Linked DNA regions of Homo sapiens: region 2 is linked to region 1. The links are contacts of gene promoters, found by promoter capture Hi-C in human tissues and cell types (Jung and others, 2019). All regions are on one chromosome and are shown on one strand. Each heading gives the region's core, a stretch centred on a gene start or on the middle of the fragment in contact. The rest is flanking DNA. Distances are from core to core; before and after follow the strand shown. Region 1 holds the start of RLF (RLF zinc finger). Region 2 overlaps ZMPSTE24 (zinc metallopeptidase STE24).

What was found. The method cuts DNA at HindIII sites, captures the fragments that hold promoters and counts their contacts. A contact is called where the count stands out against the background at its distance.
Region 2: a contact is called between a fragment that was not itself captured here and the fragment with the promoter of RLF in region 1, in 2 of the 25 tissues and cell types used here (adrenal gland and aorta).

Annotation. Positions count from the first base shown.
Region 1 is chr1:40,159,828-40,164,583 of GRCh38, reverse strand. It overlaps RLF (RLF zinc finger), which reads right to left and starts at 3,197. Exons shown (of 8, transcript NM_012421.4): 1 at 2,948-3,197. The coding sequence starts at 3,184. LOC105378671 (a long non-coding RNA gene) reads left to right here and starts at 3,306. Exons shown (of 3, transcript XR_947232.3): 1 at 3,306-3,619. RefSeq lists enhancers at 2,293-2,908, 2,912-3,421, 2,909-3,525 and a silencer at 4,534-4,735. The HindIII fragment of the contact is 7,287 bases long and covers 677-4,756 here.
Region 2 is chr1:40,278,611-40,283,443 of GRCh38, reverse strand. It overlaps ZMPSTE24 (zinc metallopeptidase STE24), which reads right to left. Exons shown (of 10, transcript NM_005857.5): 7 at 1,917-2,101. Among named protein-coding and RNA genes, the nearest start is that of ZMPSTE24, 23 kb to the right of the region's middle. The HindIII fragment of the contact is 4,061 bases long and covers 1,522-4,833 here.

The sequences.
Region 1 (4,756 bases), core at 1,948-4,447:
ACACTGTCTGGCAGTGGTTTCAGAAAAGGAACTGAAGGAAAGAGGAAAACAAACCACATCCCATAGTCACTTAATACCAATTTTCACTGAATACAGTTTGACCTAAGTATCATTTTCTTAGTAAGTATTACTTTCAGTGTTTCATTTTATCATCTTCACAAACTTATGAAAATTGAAAATATGCCCAGAATGAGACAAGCTTCTCTATTCACTCATATGTTAGTTTATTTCTTGATTTGGTGCAATCCCAAAGATAGAGCCATTTCTTTTAAGTGCTGCAAGAGTTGGAGAGAATATGGTCCCAGGATGTTGCAAAAGGGATTACTTGGTACAATCTAAGTCTCTAGGACATTTCTAACTAAATAACTGATGAAAATACATTTGTAGTATTAAGCATCCCATAAGCAGGGGTCAGACCTTTATAATGTAAAAATGCCTACAATCTATCTTTATATATTATGTGCTCCTCTCCTAGAGTCCGAGAAAACTGTCTTAACTAGGCTCCCACCTTCAGAACTGTCACACAATCAGTGTTCCTTAAGTAAATGAATATATCTTATTCTTCTTTTCAAATGTGAAACCAAGAGCTATTCAACAAAATTTACTGATGGTGAAAATTTTCCTGCTTCTTCATACAATTTTTACTTTTTCTCTATCTGGTCATCAAGGACACAGTTGATCTTATCTGGACTACAGGGGAAAATGTGTCAAAAATATGATAAATTTTGTGAAGACTTGTACACAAATTTTCTATTCTGATTGTATAAAGCATTATAAGGAGATAAAGGTCAGAAAATAAGATAGTTTTGCAGACATGGTTACCCAAGGTTATTAGCTAAGCAGTGGTAAAGTCACAGTCAAGACCCAACTTAACTCCCAATCCCATGTGCTTTCTATTACAATACAGTGTTACAGGAATACTTGTTCTTGTTTCATTTATTAGTCTAAAAAACATTTTTTGGGAAAATTTTAGGTTAAAAAAAACTTCATAGAAAAGACAAATTACACATGCTTTCTTTTAAAAATTCTTCTGGGCCATCACATCTCTGGTGTCACCAAGACTCAAGACATTAAAACATTACCTTAAACAAAACTGCAGTTGCAAGCACTAGACATAAAGCAGAATACATATATATGTGATCCTTTGACAAGCTTCAATGTGACTGGTTACATTCATTCTTGTCATCTTTCCAGGGAGACAACTCAAGCTTAGAAGCCTTACCCAAAACCCACAGTTGTTTTCCTGCACCACCCCTCTCCTTCCATTAGTTTCCCCTCCTCCCATAGCATTCTGGGTCCTTACCAATCTCTACCTTTGGCACTGGGATGCTTTCCCCACCCCAGACCTTCACGTGACTCATTTTCATCCTTGCAGCCCATAGGGTCTTACTAACTAAAGTGGCCTCTCCCAGTTACTTCTTTCTAAGCACATACTACAATTTATAATTAACCTTTTTACTTATTTTTCTAGTTAATTGTCTTTCCCATCAGGATATCCCATGAAGGCTCTCTCCTCACCATTGTCTCTACAACACCTCCTTTTCCATCATTACCAAAACCGCACTGGAAATACTGTCATTCCTACCACCTCCCACCAACTGTAAGTTCATCAAGGCTAAGTGCTGTCTTACTCATGTTTCCCCAGCACTTGGTAAAGTCCCTGGCACTATCCTATGAAGTCAGTAAAAATCTGTAAAATAAATGAGCTTACTAAACAGGGATGACTACTACTAAGGAAGCAGAGAACAACAACACGTTAACATTTAATAGTACAGGGCAATGTTGCAGGTTGTACACACAAAAATTGGAGTGGTACAATCCACGGAAAAGATTAGTAAGGACAAAATTCCATTCAGAGAGATGAGGTGCTTCTGCCTCGGCAGAGAGAGGGAAGAAAAGCAATCAAGCAAGCTAACTTTTATTCTACTCCGGACCAACAGAGCAAATTGCCCCCCAAAATTATTATTTTAGAACGCCGCAATTTATTCAGCATACTGGACTACTTATTAGACTCCAAGTACCAACATGCCACGATTATTTTGCATTTTCTAAGGTACAACAGATAAGGAGCTGATGGGTGCCTCTGAAACCTGACAGAACAAACATTGGAAGCAGAAATAATAATGGCCAATATTTGTATTTGTAAAAGACTTGAAAACATACAGAAAAATCTCGGAGTGGTCATGGAGACTAAACTAAACACACCCATAAATATGTAATCATAGGTTAGGACCCACCAAGGCACAGAAATGATCATACGACTGCCAAAAGAGGCCACACTCTACATCCCTCTTCCCATCCTCTTCTACTCAAAGAGTCAGCCTTATTCTCGGTAGCACAATCCTCTCAAAGAAATACAGAAAAGACGAAAGAACGGCTTAAACGTAAAAAAAAAAAAAGCAAAAACCAAACAACCAACCGGCTCCGCAATCCCTAATCAGAAAGCTCTAGACGCCTTTCGAAGCCAACTGTCATACCTTTTAGGAGCCCAGAAGATGTTAACTCCAAAAATAAGTCTCTGGCCCCAACACACCTCTCTGGATTATTCAGAAAAACCCGGGTTTACCAGTTCGGAGATCTGCACTCCACTCAAAAAAGGATCTCCCGGCAGGGACAAGCAATCAATCCCTCAGGGGGCAGTGGCGCTCCAACCACCCGGCCAGGACACAGGCAACGGCGACAGGGCACAGCCCTTCCAGGGACCCGCCAGGGCCCTCCGGGATCTCAGTAAGGCTCAGAGCAAAACGACCCAGCGGTGGCCAAAGTCGGGCAGTGGCGCAGGGGGGCCAGCGGTCGAGCTTCCGAGCTGGGCCTTCCCGGCCCGGGGGCGCGGCGAGTCACGGAGGTGGCGCCTTTCAGTTTGGACCCGGCTGCTTACAGAGGATCCAGGGCCTCCTTCCCTGACTTCCCCGCCCCGCCGCCCTCAGCCAGCCAGTCAGCCCCTCACCTGGCAGAAGCTCCGGCAGTAGTTCAAAGATGAGACCTCCGACACCTCTTGCTCCCTCAGCTCTGTCTCCAGCTGCCACAGACACGGCCGCAGTCCCGAGGCTCCCGGCGCTGGAGATACGGGGCGATGACCCCGAACCATGGACTCAGTCTCGACTCCATCTCCGGCTCCCGCTACCGCCGGAGCCTCAGCCCCAGCCCCGGCGACAGCGGCGGCGTCTCCCTTTCCGTCCGCCATCTTCCCACGGCCCACCAGCGCGTAGGCAACCAAGCCACGTGACTCAGCCCTGGCCCTGCCCCCGGCCGCCCGCGCACTGTGACGCACTCCTTAGCGACGCGGGCGCCCGCCTGATTCCGTCACTCGGACTCCGGGTGCTCTCAGTGGCCTACGCATCGCCAGTCCTGACAACAGCCTAGCAACAACTGGCTAGAGGCTATGCCCACCTAGACCCCTTTGAGGTCATGGGATCACGGAGCCAGAAATGCCTGTAGAGCAATCTAGATTTGAGGGGGATGACATTTGAACTGCGATCTGAAGGGACAAGAGGAAGGTAGCCCTGAAAGGAACATAGCGAAAAGCATCCCTGGTAGAAGGAAAATAAGCAAAGATTGTGAGGCCGAAATGAAGAGTAACATCAAGGGAACTTGGTTTATGATACAGACGGCATTACAAGTCAGTGGGCGAAAGGACAGACTCTTCAATAAATGGCGATGAGACATTTTTTCCAAAAGGGAAATAAATGATTAGATTTCTACCTCAAACCATTTCCAAAAATAAGGCCGAGATGGATTAAAGACCTGCAAACATTTTTCAGAAAATAAAAATAGCTTTATAATGTCAAAAATAGGGAAGAATTTTTTTTTTTTTTTTTAGACGGAGTCTCACCCTTGTTGCCCAGGCTGGAGTGCAACAGTGCTATCTCAGCTCACCGCAACCTCCGCCTCCTTGGTTCAAACATTCTCCTGCCTCAGCTTCCGGAGCAGCTGGGATTACATGCATGCGCCACCATACCTGGCTAATTTTGTATTTTTAGTAGAGATGGGGTTTCTCCATGTTGGTCAGGCTGGTCTCGAACTCCTGACCTCAGGTGATCCGCCCGCCTCAGCCTCCCAAAGTGCTGGGATTAGAGGCGTGAGCCACCGCGCCCGGCTAAGAATTTCTTAATAAGACCGGAAAAGCACAAACCATAAGGGAAAATATTTAGATTTGACTGTATTAAAATGTGTTACTTCCGTATAACAAGTTGAAAAAGCACACAAAGACAAGCCACAGACTAAATGATATTCCCCATATATATAACCATTGTTTATTGTTGTTGTTTTTTGAGACAGGGTCTCACTCTGTCACCCAGCCTGGAGTGCAGTGGCACGATCTAGGCTCACTGCAACCTCTGCCTCTCAGGTTTAAGTGATTCTCGTGCTTCAGCCTCCCAAAGTAGCTGGCACTATAAGCGTCCGCCACCATGCCTGGCTAATGTTTGTATTTTTAGTAGAGGCGGGGTTTCACTGTGTTGGCCAGGCTGATCTCGAACTCCTGGCCTCAAGTGATCCGCCCGCCTTGGCCTTCCAAAGTGCTGGGATTACAGGCGTGAGCCACCGCGCCCAGCCATAACCATTGTTTTGATTAGTATCCAAAACAGTTCCCGGGCTGGGCGAGGTGGCTCACGCCTGTAATCCCAGCACTTTGGGAGGCCGAGGCGGGCAGATCACGAGGTCAGGAGATCAGGACTATCCTGGCTAACACGGTGAAACCCTGTCTCTACTAAAAATACAAAAAATTAGCCGGGCGTGGTGGCGGGCGCCTGTAGTC
Region 2 (4,833 bases), core at 2,303-4,802, 120 kb before region 1:
AACCTCCACCTCCCAGGTTCAAGCAACTCTTGTGCCTCAGCCTCCTGAGTACTGGGATTACAGGCGTGCGCTATCATGCCCAACTAATTTTTGTATTTTTTTGTAGAGACAGGGGTTTCGTCATGTTGGCCAGGCTGGTCTCGAACTCCTGGCCTCAAGTTATCTGCCTGTCTTGGCCTTCCAAAGTGCTGGGATTACAGGTATGGGCCACAGTGCCTGACCATAAGCAGATTAACTTTCTAAACTTGCATGATTCTCTAGTGTTATCACTGGGTTATTCTTTCTGGACTTCAGTTTTCCTATTTATAAGATGACTTTAAGATGTCTTCTAATCCCTTCACAGAATTTTATTTCATCTACGTATTTATAACAGGCTAGGTACTTTACTAGAACCTGTTTTTAGTGTCAAAACAGATGCTCAGATGCTAATCATTTTCTGGTACTCTCTACATTTGGGTAGAGAGTACAAGGTATTTCACACATATTATTTCATTTAATCTTCAAAACCCTAAAATGTAGGTATCTTTAGCCTAGTATTTCTCAACCAGGGGAGACTCGGCCCCACCGCTACCTTTAGGGGACATCTGGCAATATTCTGAGACATTTTTGTTGTTACAATTTGTAGAGGTTGTAGGGGAAATGGCCCCTAGTGGGGAGAGACCAGGGATGCTGCTAAACATCCTGTGATGCACAAGATACCTCCCACAACAAAAAAATTATCTGGCTCAAAAAAATAGCGTGGGGCTTGAGAAACCCTACTGGCCTCATCTTTCAGTTAAGAAATCAAAGATTTAGAAAGCTTGGCGGGGTGCGGTGGCACACGCCTATAATCCCAGCACTTTGGGAGGCCAAGGCAGGCGGGTAACTTGAGGCCAGCAGTTCGACCAGCCTGGAAAACATAACAAGACCTCATCTCAAAATAAATAAATACATAAATAAATGAAAGCTTAACTTACTTGCACAGAGTTACACAGACAGTGAGTGAACAGGCATCTAAAATCATCTCTGTATGACACCAAAGGCAATGGCACATTCCATCACACATACAAATACTGATGATCATTTCTGACAGTTTGTATTGTTTCTTATCATTGTCCCCTCTCCCCCATTTAGTCTTGATACTTTAAATTCTGCTAATCAATATCAGTCAATCTTATCCACGAAAAGGATTCAGAAGCAGCTTTCTCAGACTCTCATGTCAGATTTGAGAAATGTCTTTTCTTGTGCTCCAGTTACTATATCTAGAATCTAAAGCTTGACAGTAGCAATTCACGTATTGTACTGTGATTGCATGACTATTTCCCCTTTAGACTGTAAGCTTAAGAGGAAGGTATTCCTTTTTATTTTTGTGTACCTAGTGCCAAGTAAAGTCTCTCAGCACAGAGTATACATTTCATAAATGGGTGTTAAACAAATAAAACAGACTAAATTACACAACGTATCCAAGGATACAAAGCTACTAAATGACAGAACCAGGATTCAAATCCAAGTCTCTCCATTGCCAAAGCCTACAATTACTGTCTTAATAAAGCTAAAAATTAGATGTTTATCTTCTCTTTATCTTGCTTGTGGGAATTCTTTGATCATAAACACATAAGAAATTATATATATATATACACACACATATATATATATACACACAAGTTCCTGTTTTAAAGATAGCTTATAATCATATGAATTTTCTTATAAGAGCTTCCAATTTTAATATCCACATTCTATAAAAGCTTGCAAGGTAGTTAGCATGTAATAATAGTGGTGATCTCTCCTAAATACCAGAACTATAAAGGAGCCATGGTTTTCATCTGATAGTCTCCCTGAATTCAACACTCACTGCCTAGAAATTGATGTTATTTTGAGTTGTCACAGGAACTGTGTATAAAAACTAAGGTAGAATCTCTTAGGAAAAAATAACTCACTTTAACTTTAGCTTTTATTTCTTCACTGTTCCCTTCTTCCTCATTGCGGGGTTCCATGCCAGAATCCTCCTGGATGTCTTTGTTTAGTACAGAGTACTCTTCTAGTAGAGTGTCAAACAAAACTATTCGCTTGTTCTTGAAGAAGCCATAAAAATAAGCATTGCTGTGGGAAGAGCGTTTAGATCCTAAGGAAAAGACAGTTCAAAGCATGGAATATAATTAAAAAGTTTGGGGTCCTTTGGAGAGACTCCTAGAAATTGAATTACTGGAAAGGACATTAACATTTTCAAATCATTTAATATGTGAAGAAAAATCATATCAACATAATTCACCACCAGCAGTGGAGAGTGTCTGTTTTTTGCCAATAAATGTGCTCATCACAGCTTTATAGCAGTAAGTAAATAAGTAAAGCCTAAACATCCAACAGTTACAAATGATTCAATTATAGTAAAACTATGAAATGGAATTTTAAGCTGCCAGAAAAAAATTATACTTCCAAAGAATTTTAACAAGAAAAAGCTCACCAATATATTGTGAAGGATACAAAACTTCACGTATATCAGGTTCCATTATCGTCAAGAAAAAATGTGCATGTATTAGGTTGGTGCAAAAGTAATTGCGGTTTTTGCATTGTTGAAATTTGCTGTTTGATATTGGAATACATTCTTAAATAAATATGGTTATGTTATACATCATTTTAATGCACATTTCTCACTTTATGTTTTTTGCTAATGACATTACTTGCTGTTTATTTTATATTTATTTTAGATAAGGGAAATTATATTAGACAAAAAGCAAATTCAACTGGGTGCAGTGGCTCATGCCTGTAATCCCAGCACTTTGGGAGGCTGAGGCAGGCGGATCACTTGAAGTCAGGAGTTCGTGACCAGCCTGGCCAACATGGTGAAACCCTGTCTCTACCAAAAATACAAAAAATTAGCCGGGCATGGTGGCGCACACCTGTCATCCCAGCTACACGTGGGGCTGAGGCATGAGAACTGCTTGAACCCAGGAGACGGAGGTTGCAGTGAGCAGAGATGTCGCCACTGCACTCCAGCCTAGGCAACAGACGGAGACTCTGTCTCACAAAGAAAGAAAAAAAAAAAAGCAAATTCAAGCAATTTTCTTCTTTGAGTTCAAAATGGGTCGTAAAGCAGCAGAGACAACTCGCAACATCAACAACGCATTTGGCCCAGGAACTGCTAACGAACGTACAGCGCAGTGGTGGTTCAAGAAGTTTGCAAAGGAGATGAGAGCCTTGAAGATGAGGAGCGTAGTGGCAGGCCATCGGAAGTTGACAATGACCAATGGAGAGCAATCATCGGAGCTGATCCCCTTACAACTACACAAGAAGTTGCCGAAGAACTCAATGTCGACCATTCTACGGTCGTTTGGCATTTGAAGCAAACTGGAAAGGTGAAAAAGCCTGATAAGTGGGTGCTTCATGAGCTAAGCGAAAATAAAAATTAAAAAAAATCATTGTTTTGAAGTGTCGTCTTCTCTTATTTTACACAACAAACCATTTCTCTATCAGACTGTGACGTGAGACGAAACATGGATTTTATAGAACAACGGGCGATGACCAGCTCAGTGGGTGGACACAGAAGAAGCTCCAAAGCACTTCCCAAAGCCAAACTTGCACCAAAAAAAGGTCATGGTCACTGTTTGGTGGTCTGCTGCCAGTCTGATCCACTATAGCTTTCTGAATCCTGGCAAAACCATTACATCTGAGAAGTATGCACAGCAAATCGATGAGATGCACAGAAAATTGCAACGCCTGCAACCAGCACTGGGCAACAGAAAGGGCCCAATTCTTCTCCAAGACAACACCCAACCGAACATCGCAAAATCAATCCTTCAAAAGTTGAACAAATTGGGCTATGAAGTTTTGCCTGATCTGCCACATTCACCTGACCTCTTGCCAACTGACTACCACTTATTCAAGCATCTCAACAACTTTTTAAAGAGAAAACGTTTTCACAACTAGCTGGATGCAGAAAATGCTTTCCAAGAGTTTGCCAAATCCCGAAGCACAGAGTTTTACCCTACAGAAATAAGCAAACGTATTTCTTGTTGGCAAAAATGTGTTGATTGTAATGGTTCTTCTTTTGATTAATAAAGATGTGTTTGAGCCTAGTTATAAGGATTCAAAATTCATGGTCTGAAACTGCAATTACTTTTGCACCAACCTAACAAATATTAACAGAAAAGCATAAGCCCATGCCTATTAGGAAACATACCAAAATACTGAAATGTTTATCACTAAATTCTAAAATTATAGATTTTTGTTTCCTTTCTTTTCCCAAAGACTTTTAAAATCAGCATACCTACTTCTATAATTAAAGCAATTTTTATAAAGACTGGAAGAAGACATACCTTTTTTTCTTTTGAGACAGGGTCTCTCTGTCGTCTAGGCTGCAATGCAATGGCATAATCATGGCTCACTGCAGCCTTGACCTCCTGAGCTCAATCAATCCTCCTGACTCATCCTCCTGAGTAGCTAGGACTACAGACACATACCACCATGCCCGGCTAATTTTTTGTAGAGACAGGGTCTTGCTATGTTGCCCAGGCTGGTCTCTAACTCCTGGGCTCAAGCAATTCTCCTGCCTTGGCATCCCAAAGTGCTGGGATTACAGGTGTGAATCACCACAGCTGGCCCATACCTAAATTTTTAATAGCAGCTAACAGTACCTGAACTATGGTTGATTTTTATTTTCTTCTTTATGCACTTCTTTGATTTCTAAATGTCCTACAATGTGCAGTGAGTTGAGTATAGTGATTAAGAGCACAGACTTTGGGTTCAAATCTTGGCTCTGCCATGTATTAGTTCTGTCAATTTAGAAAACTTTCTTAATTTCTTTAAGCTTTAGTTTCCTATTTATGAAGCGAGCCTAATATCTACCTCATTGGGTTA